Regions from separate parts of the Homo sapiens genome. Here all the other regions are linked to region 3. The links are contacts of gene promoters, found by promoter capture Hi-C in blood cells and fetal thymus (Javierre and others, 2016). All regions are on one chromosome and are shown on one strand. The core of a region is centred on a gene start or on the middle of the fragment in contact, and the rest is flanking DNA. Distances in the headings are between cores, read along the strand shown. Region 1 has its middle 5.5 kb from the start of LINC00237. Region 2 overlaps KIZ (kizuna centrosomal protein). Region 3 holds the start of NKX2-4 (NK2 homeobox 4).

Evidence for each region. Contacts are between HindIII fragments. The CHiCAGO score rates a contact against its expected background, and 5 or more counts as called.
Region 1: a contact is called between a fragment that was not itself captured here and the fragment with the promoter of NKX2-4 in region 3, in 3 of 17 cell types (activated CD4 T cells, fetal thymus and total B cells). The highest score is 7.6, in activated CD4 T cells.
Region 2: a contact is called between a fragment that was not itself captured here and the fragment with the promoter of NKX2-4 in region 3, in 1 of 17 cell types (activated CD4 T cells). The highest score is 5.1, in activated CD4 T cells.

The regions. Positions count from the first base shown.
Region 1 is chr20:21,109,682-21,114,009 of GRCh38, forward strand. No RefSeq gene overlaps it. Among named protein-coding and RNA genes, the nearest start is that of LINC00237, 5.5 kb to the left of the region's middle. The HindIII fragment of the contact is 7,305 bases long and covers 1-4,328 here.
Region 2 is chr20:21,127,699-21,131,679 of GRCh38, forward strand. All of the region lies in intron 1 of KIZ (kizuna centrosomal protein), which reads left to right. Among named protein-coding and RNA genes, the nearest start is that of KIZ, 3.6 kb to the left of the region's middle. The HindIII fragment of the contact is 7,603 bases long and covers 1-3,981 here.
Region 3 is chr20:21,395,204-21,399,515 of GRCh38, forward strand. NKX2-4 (NK2 homeobox 4) reads right to left here and starts at 2,323. Exons shown (of 2, transcript NM_033176.2): 1 at 1,755-2,323; 2 at 162-1,330. The coding sequence starts at 2,196. The coding sequence ends at 708. LOC105372558 (a long non-coding RNA gene) reads left to right here and starts at 2,731. Exons shown (of 4, transcript XR_001754528.1): 1 at 2,731-3,373; 2 at 4,060-4,163. The HindIII fragment of the contact is 6,496 bases long and covers 1-4,312 here.

The sequences.
Region 1 (4,328 bases), core at 1,223-3,722, 290 kb before region 3:
TCAACTCCTGCCTGCATCTCCAGCCTGCCAGCCTGTGCTACAGATTTCAGATTTGCCAATCCCTACAATTACATGATCCAATTCCTTTAAGTATATATATATGGTATATCTATATACAGGGTATATGTATACACACACACACACACACACACACATATACATATATATATATACCTATGTCTATAATTGGTTCTTTTTCTCTGGAGAACTCTGGCTGAAAAGGATCCAAGCCAAGAACCACCCAGGTGAGCCCAGTAAACCCACAGAACCATAAAAGTAATAAAAAGCCATTGTTTATCACACAGCAATAGATAATGAGAATAATCAGAACAGGAAGTGACATTGTCCACTCTGCTTCTCTGTACCTCAGTTTCATCATCTCTGTAGTGAATATCTTGTCCTAGATTGACATTTTAGCTCTTTCGAACTTTCTTGCTCTCAAATTCCCAAGACTCATCAATGAGATGGACTATTCTGCTGTCATTAAATTGACAATGCATATTTTAACACCAAGCTGAAAATCAAATGAATAAAGATTTAAATACGATAAGATGGACAGATTACTAAATTATAAAAATTGTGGCACTGAAGAGGTTATAAAGTTAATTAAATAGTCGGTAGGTTAAGGAAAAAGTGGTTTTATTCTTCTTTATTAAGTTGCTTAAATAACCCTGAAATATTTCTGTGGTTTTATGATGAGAGTTTTTATTGGCGCTTTTGTGAAATAATGGCAATGACCTTGGCTATGGGCTTTCTACAGAACAAGAGGTAACACTTCTCATCAATGATGTCACCAAAATATTCTAGAAATCAGGTTGAATATCATAATAGAGAAAAAAACATGAGGTCCAATTATTTTCCTACTCTTGGAATGCCCAGGTGCATTTTCTGAGACTTGAGGGGTCATGGGAATCTTTGTATTTCTTTTCCTTGCCCATAGCCGATAACTCTTTTCTTTCTGTTTTTTTTTTATTGCCCAAAGATAATGATGTCACAATTTCAACATGTTTATTAGAAATTTATTTCTATAGAGAAATTCAGCTCTGAAATATTCAAGGAAACTTAAAACAGGGAAAAGAATGTTGGAGAAGGAATCCCATGGAGTGTTAGAGTGTGAAGTGGTAGAAAATTCCAACTTATTGCTATCTTCGTTGCTGTACACACCTTGCAATATCCAGTTGGCCTGAGGCTCTCACTTCATTTCATATTGTCACTTCTAGACCACAATTTCATTCCCTCTATTTTTTTTTGTTTGTTCTGTTTTTAAGAGACAGGGTCTCACTATGTTGGCCAGGCTGAAGTGCAGGGGCTGTTCACAGGCACTATCATAGCACACTGCAGCACTGAACTCCTGGGCTCTGCAATTCTCCCAGGTAGCTGAGACTATAGGCACAGGCCACTGCACCTGGCCCCTCTACCTTCTATTTAAAATTCATCCCACTGACTTCAGGTTCTGCTTGGGGATAAAAGAGAGCTGGAAAGAGCATTGCTCTCATCTTACAGCAACAAAGGCCAGAAAGCCAGTAAGTATGTCTGTTGTTGAAGGCACCAGAGTACTAATATCACAAGGTAACCAACTGGCCCAAGACTTAGGCTCAGGGTGAGACTTCCTGTGCATGCCCGAAGCCCTCCATCTGACAGCTTCTGAGTGTATCCACCGAGTTCTTCAGTGCAAATCTGGAGCATGGAGAGGAAGTTGAACAGTTCCCCTTTAAGCAAGGTAGTATATTCTAGTAGTCCTATAATAGGGCTTGAAATCAGTCTTAGTCCTCCAACATTCTTTCCACAATTCTTCTTTATAGAGTTGTTTTGGCTGTTAGAAACAGCTTGTCAATTTCTTTAAAAAAAAAAAACCTGCTGGGATTTTGATAGGGAATTTGTAGAATTTATCAATCAATTTGGAGAGAATTGACGTCATAACAATATTGAGTGTCCTCACTCATATTTCTCTCCATTGATTTAGATCTTCTTTCATTTCTCTTAGCAATATTTGCAGTTTTCAGTGTGCAGTTCTGTCACATTTTTTGTCAGATTTGTCCCTAAATATTTCATGGTTTTCGATGCTATTGTAAATGGTATTTAAAATTTTTCAGTTTCCTATTGTTTGTTGCTGGTATATAGAAATACAATTGAGTTTTATATATTGATCTTTTATCCTACAACCTTGCTAAACTCACTTATTAGTTCTCTGCAAGGCAGTAGAAACCAGAATGACACAGCCTGGTTTCCCTCCTCCCCATTATCCTAAGAGGACATTTGTCATGCAGATGACCATAGGTTGCCCTCTACTTCTCTGTCTTCTGCCAGGCTTTGAACAGGAGAAGCAACCTCTCCAAGCCTCAGGATAATAATGCTCACCTTGCCGTGCTATAGTTAGGAGTAATAAGAACCTACATGTTGAAAGCCCAGCCAAGGCCTGAATCATAGCACTCAGTATATGTCAGTGTCCTTTGATTAATATTCTAAGTTCTCCATGGAAACTTCTTTTGTGCTCCCAAGTGCTAAATACCCTTTAGGTCCAAGTGTTCAAAGCATCCTCACTTGTTGGCCTATCATGATATGCTCCATTAAGGAACTAAAAACTATGTTTTTAGTTAATGCACATGCTGTTTCTAAATAGCTGATGCTGTTAGAGTTCATTTCTCCTTTCTTACCCTGCAGGTTACATAGTGTCTGTACAGTCCAGGACATCCTCCACCTCTCTGTTTGAGGGTGTTCTCTGGTGCTGGGACTTCTTGGGAGATTGCAAGCAAGACTGGAAATACTAGAGTTGTCTTAGTTCAAGTTGCTGTAACAAAATATGTTAGACTGGGTAACTTATAAACAACAGGAAAGTAGAGTGCTCGCAATTCTGGAGGCTGGGAAGTTCAAGATTGACGTACCAGCAGACTGGGTGTCTGGCAAGGACTCACTACTTCACTGATGGCATCTTCTTGCTACATCCTCACATGGTGGAAAGGCAAAAGGGGCAAACAGCCTCCCTCAGGCCTCTTTTACAAGAGCACTAATCCCATTCATGAGGGCTCTGCCTCCCAAAAGCACCACTTCTTAATATCAAAACACTGGGGACCAGGTGTGGTAGCTCACATCTGTAATCGCAGCACTTTGGGAGGCTGAGGCGGGTGGATCACTTGAGGTCAGGAGTTCAAGACTAGCCTGGCCAACATGGTGAAACTCCGTCTCTACTAAAAATAGAGAAATTAGCTGGGTGTGGTGGTGCATGCCTGTAATCCCAGCTATTCGAGAGGCTGAGGCAGGAGATTCACTTGAACCCGGGAGGCAGAGGTTGCAGTGAGCTGAGATCACATCACTGCACTCCAGCCTGGGCAACAGAGCAAGACTCCGTCTCAAAAAAAAAAAAAAAACAAAAAACAAAAAACACTGGGTATTCAATTTCAACATATGAATTTTGGAGTATTGCAAACATTCAGACCATAGCAGGAGTTAATCTAAGGAGCAACCCTCCATCAATGAGTGGTGGGAGTGGATAGATTCAAAAGCCTACTTTCTCATCCCTCAGTCAAGATGATTCTGTTCTATCCTTCCATAGTCCCTTAGAGGTCCCCAGCTGAATTGAGTCACAGCTGTCCTCAGTGGTAACCTGCTCATTAAGGCCTCTTAAATCTGCTTCCTTCCTTTCTCTGTCTAATGGTCCCTGTCTCTCAACCACTTTCTGGGATAACCTCCAAAATAAACTAGTTGTGCCCTCCAACCTTGTCGTGGGATCTGCTTTGGGGAATCAAAAATAAGATAGGTCATTTGACAAATGATCAAGGTAGTTAGTAGCAGAACTAGAATTAGAACCCAGGTCTTCTGGTTCTAGACTATGTTCTTTAGTTTTACCAGATGTGGGAGTAATGCACTTGAAACAATGATAACACAGCATCCAGCAGTGTGTAATTGGACACTAATAGCCCAGCACTGGCTCCTCATGCCATGCTTGTATCCTAAGGCTGGTATTAGGAATTACTCTTCTGAGTGGGTTCAAGTAGCAACATAATCAGCAAATGAAGTGGCGACTGAGGTGCGGGTCACTGAAGCCAAGAAGGGATAATTTTTTAAAGATAATGAAATAGTAGTGATATGGGATATTTTAAAATCTCATGGGGGGAAGGGAGCCTACAGTAGTGGTGCACAGCTCTAAGTATGACTTAATGATGCAAGTTTTTAAAAGCCCAGAGGTACTGGTCAGCAGCATTTACTAGACCACGTGTTTCCATAAGCAAGGCACATGTACACATTTGACAAATGACTTATTAGTAGTGCTATAGTGTGGCGCTGCTGTGATGTACTAGAAAGATGCCTACCCCATGACATTTTATGTCAAT
Region 2 (3,981 bases), core at 512-3,011, 270 kb before region 3:
TTATAGAGGCAAATAATTCTAGATACAGAAAAGGCTGCAGTAGAAATATCAAAACCTGGATTCTAGTCCACGAACAATTGTGTGACCTTGAGCAGGTTGTTCCACCTCTCTGAACCTTGGTTCTTTACCAGGAATGAGGGGGCTTGACTAATATGCAAAGTAAGGCCACAGATTTTTTTCTTTCTCTCTTTGCTAGAATAATGGGCCTTAAAGTAAAAAAAGAAAAAAAAGCTGAAAGCTGTAGTTTTGCAAAGCAATGTGTAAAGAATATTATTGTCTGTATCCAATTTGAGTGTTTGGATGTACCTTTTTGTTTGTTTGTTTATTTGTTTGAAACATAGTCTCACTCTGTCACCCAGGCTGGAGTGCAATGGCATGATCTCAGCTCACTGCAACCCCCACCTCCCAGGTTCAAGCGATTGTCCTGCCTCAGCCTCCCTAGTAGCTGGGATTACAGGCGCCCACCACCAACCCCAGCTAATTTTTGTATTTTTAGTGGAGATGGGGTTTCACCATGTTGGCCAGGCTGATCTCGAACCCCTGACCTCAGGTGATCTGCCTGCCTCTGCCTTCCAAAGTGTTGGGATTACAGGTGTGAGCCACTGCACCCGGCCTTGGTTGTACCTTTTTAAACAAAGAAACACAAAGCATCCCACTGATCACAGATACCACTGTCTCCTAAAATTCCTGAGTCATTTCATAGGGAGCAACCCTGGGTAGTCACAGCTGCTTTATCAATCCAGAAACTTCTGGGAAGTGGGAGACAAAAAAAAACTCCCTCTTTCTCAGCCCTTTTAGAGGTGGTCATTGCAATGTTAGCTGGTCAAATAACCAGCATATTTCCAGCCCAAGTCATGTTAGCTGTAGTTACACGTAGATGTAATTTTATCGTCTGAATGTTTTCCTATGTGTGTACAGTGTTTTTTCTGCATTGTGGTGAAAGTCAATAATTGAATCTAAAAGAGTCTAATGGAGTGACTTGTTACAGTGTGTATAGCACCCACAAGCATGGTAGAAACTTATAAGTGGAATTGGCTCTTACGGTTATACAAAAACATCCTTTTAAAAGGGCCCATTAGCCAGCCGCGGTTTTTTCAGTGCCTATATTGATTCAGAGTAAGATATCATAATAGTCTAGAAACTGACACTGAGATATTAGTAGAGTAAGCTGAAGATGGTATAGAATTGTGGTATCGAGACAAAAACAGAATAACAAGTGGCTTAAAAGTAGAAAACTCAGCAAGATAAGGACCACTTAGCTGTGTAAAACTGAAAGGTCCAAGTGAGGGGTGACTGAAAACATGAACTATGGGTAAGCATCCCAGGGATGGGTATTTCAAAGATTCTGAATAGAGATTTAATATGTAAGAATTGCAAGCCATGGAAAGGCTTTTCATTGAGGCAAATATCTGGTTTTTAGTATTAAATTTTAAAAAGACATGGAGGGCTCAGCATTCTGAGGTGCTGCAGTGTGGATGAGGGGCTAGAAAATAGGCCTGTGAAGAAGAGTTAACAAGATTACCACCGTTTTGCCTGGGAGAGAAAGCCAAGAGGAGTTTGATTATCAGGGTATGAAGTGTTATGATAGAGAAGTGTGAGCAGCAGATGTCTGCATCTGCTGAAGATGTTTTACAAATAAATTTTACATTCATTACTAAGAAGAACTTGCTGCTTGGGAGGTGGTGGATTTCCAAAGTGACTGTGGTCCTTTTTCACTAGAAGTCATAGGTGAATTTTAGAAATTATTTTAAAGTGGCTGGGCGTGGTGGCTCACACCTATAATCCCGGCACTTTGAGAGGCAGAGGCGGGTGGATCACCTGAGGTGAGGAGTTTGAGACCAGCCTGGCCAACATGGCAAAACCCCGTCTCTACTAAAAATACAAAAATTAATTGGGTGTGGTGGCGCATGCCTGTAATCCTAGCTACTTGGGAAACTGAAACAGAATCCCTTAAACCCAGGAGGGAGAGGTTGCAGTGAGCTGAGATTGTGCCATTGTACTCCAGCTTGGGCAACAGAGTGAGACTCCATCTCAAAAAAAAAAAATGTGTGTATATATATATATATTTTTTAAAGTAAATTCTAGCTTACAAAAAAGTTGCGAATATAGGACAAAGACCTCCAGTGTTCCTGTCACCCAGATCCCTCAACTATTAACATTTTATTAGATTTTTGACACTGAGATATCAGTTGGGTATCTATTTAAATCTGTCTATCTAAAACCATTAGCCTTTTCTGATCTGTTTGAGAAGTGCATATATGATGCCTCATCACTCCTAAAATCTTCAATGTGTGTTTCCAAAAGCCAAGGATGTTCTTGTACATGATCACACCATACAGCCCTCCTAGTGGTGAAACCAGTCCGCAGACTGCATCAGATTTCACCAGCTATCTTAACGATGCTCCCTTTTTTTTCCCCCTGGTCCAGTGGCTCACCTGCAAACCGCGGTTGCATTTGGCTGGCATGTCTCTTCAGTCTCCCTACATCTGGAACGATTCCTCAGTCTTTCCCTGTCTTTCATGTTCCTGACAAGTTCATAGAGTACAGCTTTCATTCTAGAGGGTGACCCTCAAGCTGAGTCTATCTGATGGTGTCTCATTACCAGACTGCAGTCGTGCTTTCTTAGGAATACAACAGAAATGAAGCACTACCTCAGGGCATGGGGTCATAGATGTATTCAGAGGTCTTCCTTTCTTTGTAATTTAATGACAAGTTGCTCACACTATCCAGTCATTCATTCTGCATGAACCAAGTACCCAATTGATCATGAAACTCTAGGGGGGGAATGGTAACTAATAAAAATTTCTAATGTGGAAGCAATTATGCTATGTTTCCTTCACTTCTATTCTAAGTTCACTCTTACTAGTGAGAAGGTAAAGATTTGTGATGCTATTAGTTAAAAATGTGTGTTTTTGTAATTTTTTTCCTTTTAATCTTTTTTTTTTCTTTTTAACATAGGCATACTGCAACCCATGGGTTGTGTTCCCCAAGTGAAGATTCTGTGTCTGGATTTTGGACCCCATATTCCCATTAAATGAATTTTGGTTAAATAGTAGTTTCCATTTAACATTATGCAAAGGAAAGAAAGTTATGTAACCTGTAATGTAGCTAACAGTGACTTTTGGGATGATCTTTTTTTTAAAGGAAAAGAACTATTCTGAAGATATATAGAAACTGATAATTAAGAGCTCACAAATGGAGCATGGGGCCAGCCCCTTTCCCTCAGGAAGCCAACCTGAGATCACCTCTGTTGGAGTCCTTATCTTTATTTCACAGCCTTTTGTTTAGGATTCTTTGCTTGGATAGAATATTATGTGGTTTCTTTTTTGGCCTTTACTTAATGTTAACTTAGATGAGCAATTTAGCTTCAATTAGGTGGGATTGAAACAAATAGTGGTGCTCAGATGGAACCCTCTGTGGCTAATCCTCCCAGGCACTCTTCTTGGGACTGAATGGCTTCATCAGTTTTATCCCCCAGCCCCCTGGTTTTGGCTGCCTCTGCTTCCTCTGCTGCCCAGTTCCCCCTCGTCCTTGCCCAGGCTGGTTGTGGGGTAAGACAGGTTTTCTCCTTAGCTTACTGCTAGCACTCACCTGAACAGCACAGGTTCAGTCTTTACTGGTAGTAGCTCCAGGAAAACAGCAACCTGTGACAAATAATGACACCATTACAGAGTTATAAAAAGAAATCCCTCCAAATTTGAAATGATGGTCTTAGAAGGCCTGGTCTTCATCAGATGTAAGTGAGGCCAGGTTTACTTTTCAGAGGTCTTTCTCTATCTCATCCACTTGGCTGTGCCCAGGCTTGTCTGGTTGAAAACAGAGCAAGCCACCAGTCTTCAATCTGTACACAAGATCTGATGGGACCCCATCACCGAAATGCCAGCGACTCAGAGAAGTCTGGCCACGTTACATTTTATATACTTATCTTGTTTATTATTGTCTGTCCTTCTCCCTAGAATGTCAACTCTTTGAGGGCAGGAG
Region 3 (4,312 bases), core at 1,073-3,572:
CATATACAAATAGTATACAACCTTTCTTATGGTGAGCTGCATCTTAGGGGGGAAAATCCTCTTTTAGCGTAACATACAAACACTCACTTGCCAAATAATCATCAAAACATTTTGAAATCAGCATTAAATTTAAAAAGCTCCATCAATCCATATAATCAGTATTTTATTTTGATTCCATTGCTCTATTACCTAAATGGCAATAATTCCTCTGCAATAATGTTGCTATGTGTATGATCCACCTTGAGCTACACTTCAATTTACTTTCAATCAAACATTAATGAAATTGCACTTAGGGGGCCCTTCGAAAATTAATCTCCCAAGATAAATTCCACTTCAAAAAGGACTGATTGTTAAAGCTGGGTTGATTTTTATAGTTACAAACGCCAACAAAGTTTCCAACTTTGAGAGCTGTAGTTAAGAATGCCGTGTGAACTTCTCCACCTTTTCGCGTCATTTAAGAACTTCTAGGAGGAGAAAATCACCACCTCAAAGCCTCGTGGCATAATGTTACACTACTCGGTTTCCGGGCTGTCGCTGTCCCCCGCCCCCAGCAAGAGGTTCACAGCCTGCTCCTCTCTGAGACCGGTTCGTTTTGAATCGCAGTTTACACGCGCGAGTCGGTTTTCGCATGCCTCCCCCATCCGTTCTAGCAGTTTCTTGCAGACCCTTCGGGTGCACCAGGACCTAGCCCCGGGGCGCCCTCGCTGTCACCACGTCCTGCCATAGAGCAGGTTGGCGCCCAGGACGCCGCCGCTGTACTCCCCGGCGGCCGCGTCCAGGGCCGCCAGGCCGCCCCCCGGGCCGTGCAGCGCGGGTGGGCTGGGCGACAGCTCCTCCAGCTCAGGTGCTGGCGTCGGGGCCGGCGGCTGCGGACCGGCCTGGCCGGGGGTGGGCGTGCTGGCGCCGTTCTGGCACGGCTTGCCGTCCTTGACCAGCACAGGCACCGCCACGCGGCGCGGGGACGGCGGCGGAGGCGGCGGCGGGCCCAGGCCGCCCTCCTGCTGCAGCTGCTGCGCCGCCTTGTCCTTGGCCTGCCGTTTCATCTTGTACCGGTGGTTCTGGAACCAGATCTTGACCTGCGTGGGCGTCAGGTGGATCATGCTGGCCAGGTGCTCGCGCTCGGGCGCCGACAGGTACTTCTGCTGCTTGAAGCGCCGCTCCAGCTCGTAGACCTGCGCCTGCGAGAAGAGCACGCGGCGCTTCCTTCGCGGAGCGGCTGCCGCCGCCGCCGCGTGCAGCGGGCCCAGCGACTTGGCGGCGTCCGCGATGCCGGTCAGCGACCCCATGCCGGCCACATTCACGCCCGCCGACGGCCCCATGAACCTGGAGACTGGGGAAGAGTCCCAAGGGGGAAGGCGAGTGAGCTCCAGGCCCGCCGGGAGCCGGTCCAGCCGCCGCTCTCTTCACGCCGCGGCCGCGACGCCGCCGGGCCCTCGCTGAATCCCAAGACCCCCTGACCGCCGCGGCCTCCGGCCCCAGCACGCCCCGCGCGCCCTCGGCGGGTCCCAGAGCACCACGCCCTCAACGGGTCCCAGGACGCCGCGCGCGTTCCCGGTCAGGTCCCAGGACCCCCCGCGCGCCCAGGGTCCCCAGAAACCCCGCGCGTCCCGGGCCGCGTCCCAGGACGCCCCGCGCGCCCGCTCGGCCCCAGGACCTCCTAAGCCGCGCGCACCCCGTCCCGCGCCCCCGCGCCCCTCGGCTGTGGCGGGAAACGCCTGAGCCGCCCGCAGCCCCGCGCTCCTGGCCCCTCTCACTTGACGAGTAGCGTGGGTCCGGGTTGGCGCCGTACCAGCCGGTGGCCGCGCCGCCCCGCATGCCGTCCGTGTAGGCGGGCAGCTCGCCCATGTTGCCCAGGCCGCCGTTGCAGTAGCTGCCCATGGCGCCGTGCGGGAACTGCGAGACGCCGGGCGGCATGTGGTAGGTGGCGGCCGCCGCCGCCGCAGCTGCTGCCGCCGCCGCCGCGGCCGCCGCGTTGTGACCCGCCATGGCGTGAGAAGGCTGCATGCCCGCCACGGTCGCCGCCTGCGAGGAGGGCCCAGGTGGCGGCGCGCGGTAGGCGGCCGCGGCCCCCAGGGGCGCCCCCAGGCCGGGTGGCGCGCCGTCCATGGCGCCGCTGAACTTCTTGTAGGTCTCCTCGATGGGGCTCAGGATGTCGGACACGGAGAAGGGCGTCGTGTGCTTTGGGCTCAACGACATGGCTCGGCGGGCAGCCAGGTAGGGGGGCCTGGGGCGCGCGCCGGCAGGACGCGGCGGCCGCTCGTCGCCGCCACCTCGGCCGCGGCAGCTGAGCCTGTGACGAGGAGTCGGCGGCTCGGCGAGCCCCCCGGGCTGCGGGATCTGGGGTTTATTTTAGTCCGGCGCCAGGTTTACGACAGACTCGGGGGGCGGAGCAACATCCCAAACGAGCAAACAATGGTCATTGACATCTTTTTCTCTCGCCCCCCCAACCCCCGCCCCATAATGGAGGCAAAAAAAGGTAAAAGGGGCAGTTGGGTGTTTCTTGGAAAGATCACTCCCCGTTGCTTTTCCCATCTTTGCTTTTCCCATCCTTTGCTTTTCCCATCCTTCGCTCCTCCATCCGCGGCCGTTACCCCAGCCCTCGAGCACCAGAAATAGAAACTCGGAGGCTGGCGTCGAGGCTAGACATGGACTCCGCGCCTGGCCCCTTCCAGATCCCAGTTTTCTAAAGTGACTTCGCACCAAAGTCCGGTATAATTGCGGAATGGGGAACGTGCTGCTAAGTTTGGGGGGAGGGTGTTGCGGGGGCTTGCTTCGTCCTCTCCAGTTATCAGCCCCTCATTCGCTCCATCACCTAAAGTGTTAAAAAAAAAAAAAAAGGCTCTTGGGTCCCACCGTAAGAGCGCATAAAGAGAGGAGGTACAATGACCGTCCTTTGCCATTGTAGGGCTCCCTAATTTATGCGTTTTTAGACCCTTAAGCATCATTTTGTGGGCAACCAAACGGGCACTTCCAAATTAGCTCAAAGTATCCAAGCCCAGAGAAGAGAGAAAACACACATACACTGATAAATACGCAGATGCTAACTTGTAAGTATTCTGTTTTTCCTCTGTGGGGATGGAAATTGAACAAGGGAAAGAGGGGGAACATTTTTATTTCCTAAAATGTTTCCTACTGAGTTTGCACTTGTAAAGTTTTTTCTGCTTTCTTTCCCTTTGTGTGTGTTCTTACTCTCTTTCTCTCAGTAAATATCTCTGACTTAAGTTTATTCTCCCATCACTACCGTGATCAAAAAGAAGAGAAAGACAAAATATCAAAACTTCCAAATATTTCTAGTTGTTCGCAACGGGTCTTTTTGTTGTTGTTGGAAAAATATAACCTGTTCAAGCGATATGAAAATGGATGCAGAAATCAGGTGAAAATTGTAGTTTCTTTGGAAAAATACAAAACCATAGATAAACAGATTTTTAAAACTTTGTCATCCTTTGACTTGCAGTTTTACCCGAATACTTAGACATTATGAACTCTCTACTAAATACTGAACAAGACAAAGCATAAGACAAAAGCAGTGTGCAAAGCATATTGATTAAATTTTGAAAACAATCTTGCAGCAATAATAATGATAACGAGAAAACAAAGATAACACTTTTAAGTTTTCCTGGAAACTGGAGCAGGAGAAAGAAAAACAAGGAGAGTGCTTTCTTAAGCAATATTTTGTTTTATTTTTTTTCCAGAAAAGGGTGTGTGGAATCGATTTAAGTTTAACCTGACAGTACATGTCTTGAAGGCAAGAACAGTGTTACATATTCCTTTTTCTGTTTGGTTTTAGCCCTTTGGTGGAAATGTTCTCCATGGTTTTGTTCTTAGGATTTTAATAATTGTTTTGTTCAACTCAGTATGGTTTTGCAAAGAATCTGCCCTTTCTAGGGGGGAAAAAGCCATAGGTCACCTGTGGGAAGGAAGTGACAGACGAATGTTAAGAGTAATGTTTTAATATACTGTAAAAATAAAATGCAAGGTTACAGGAATTGTTTACAAACATCAGTATTGACTTAGCAAGATTAATATTGCTACAGTTTTAACACGATGCTACTTTTACAGGTCTTTTATGAACTTGAAACACATCGGCTAGGTCTTCATCCTCACCTGCACTGGAATTACCTACTTAAGAAAAACAAACTAATGATACACAAAGAAGCACTTATGTATGTATTTAAACACTTGCTGGGATCCTTCTGAAAACTACAGTTTGAATTTTACGTTTCCGGTTTAGTTTAAATTGTATTGTTTACTTGTATGTATTAGCTTAAATAAAATAATAGTCATTTCAAATGTTTCTCAGAGACAACAGGGT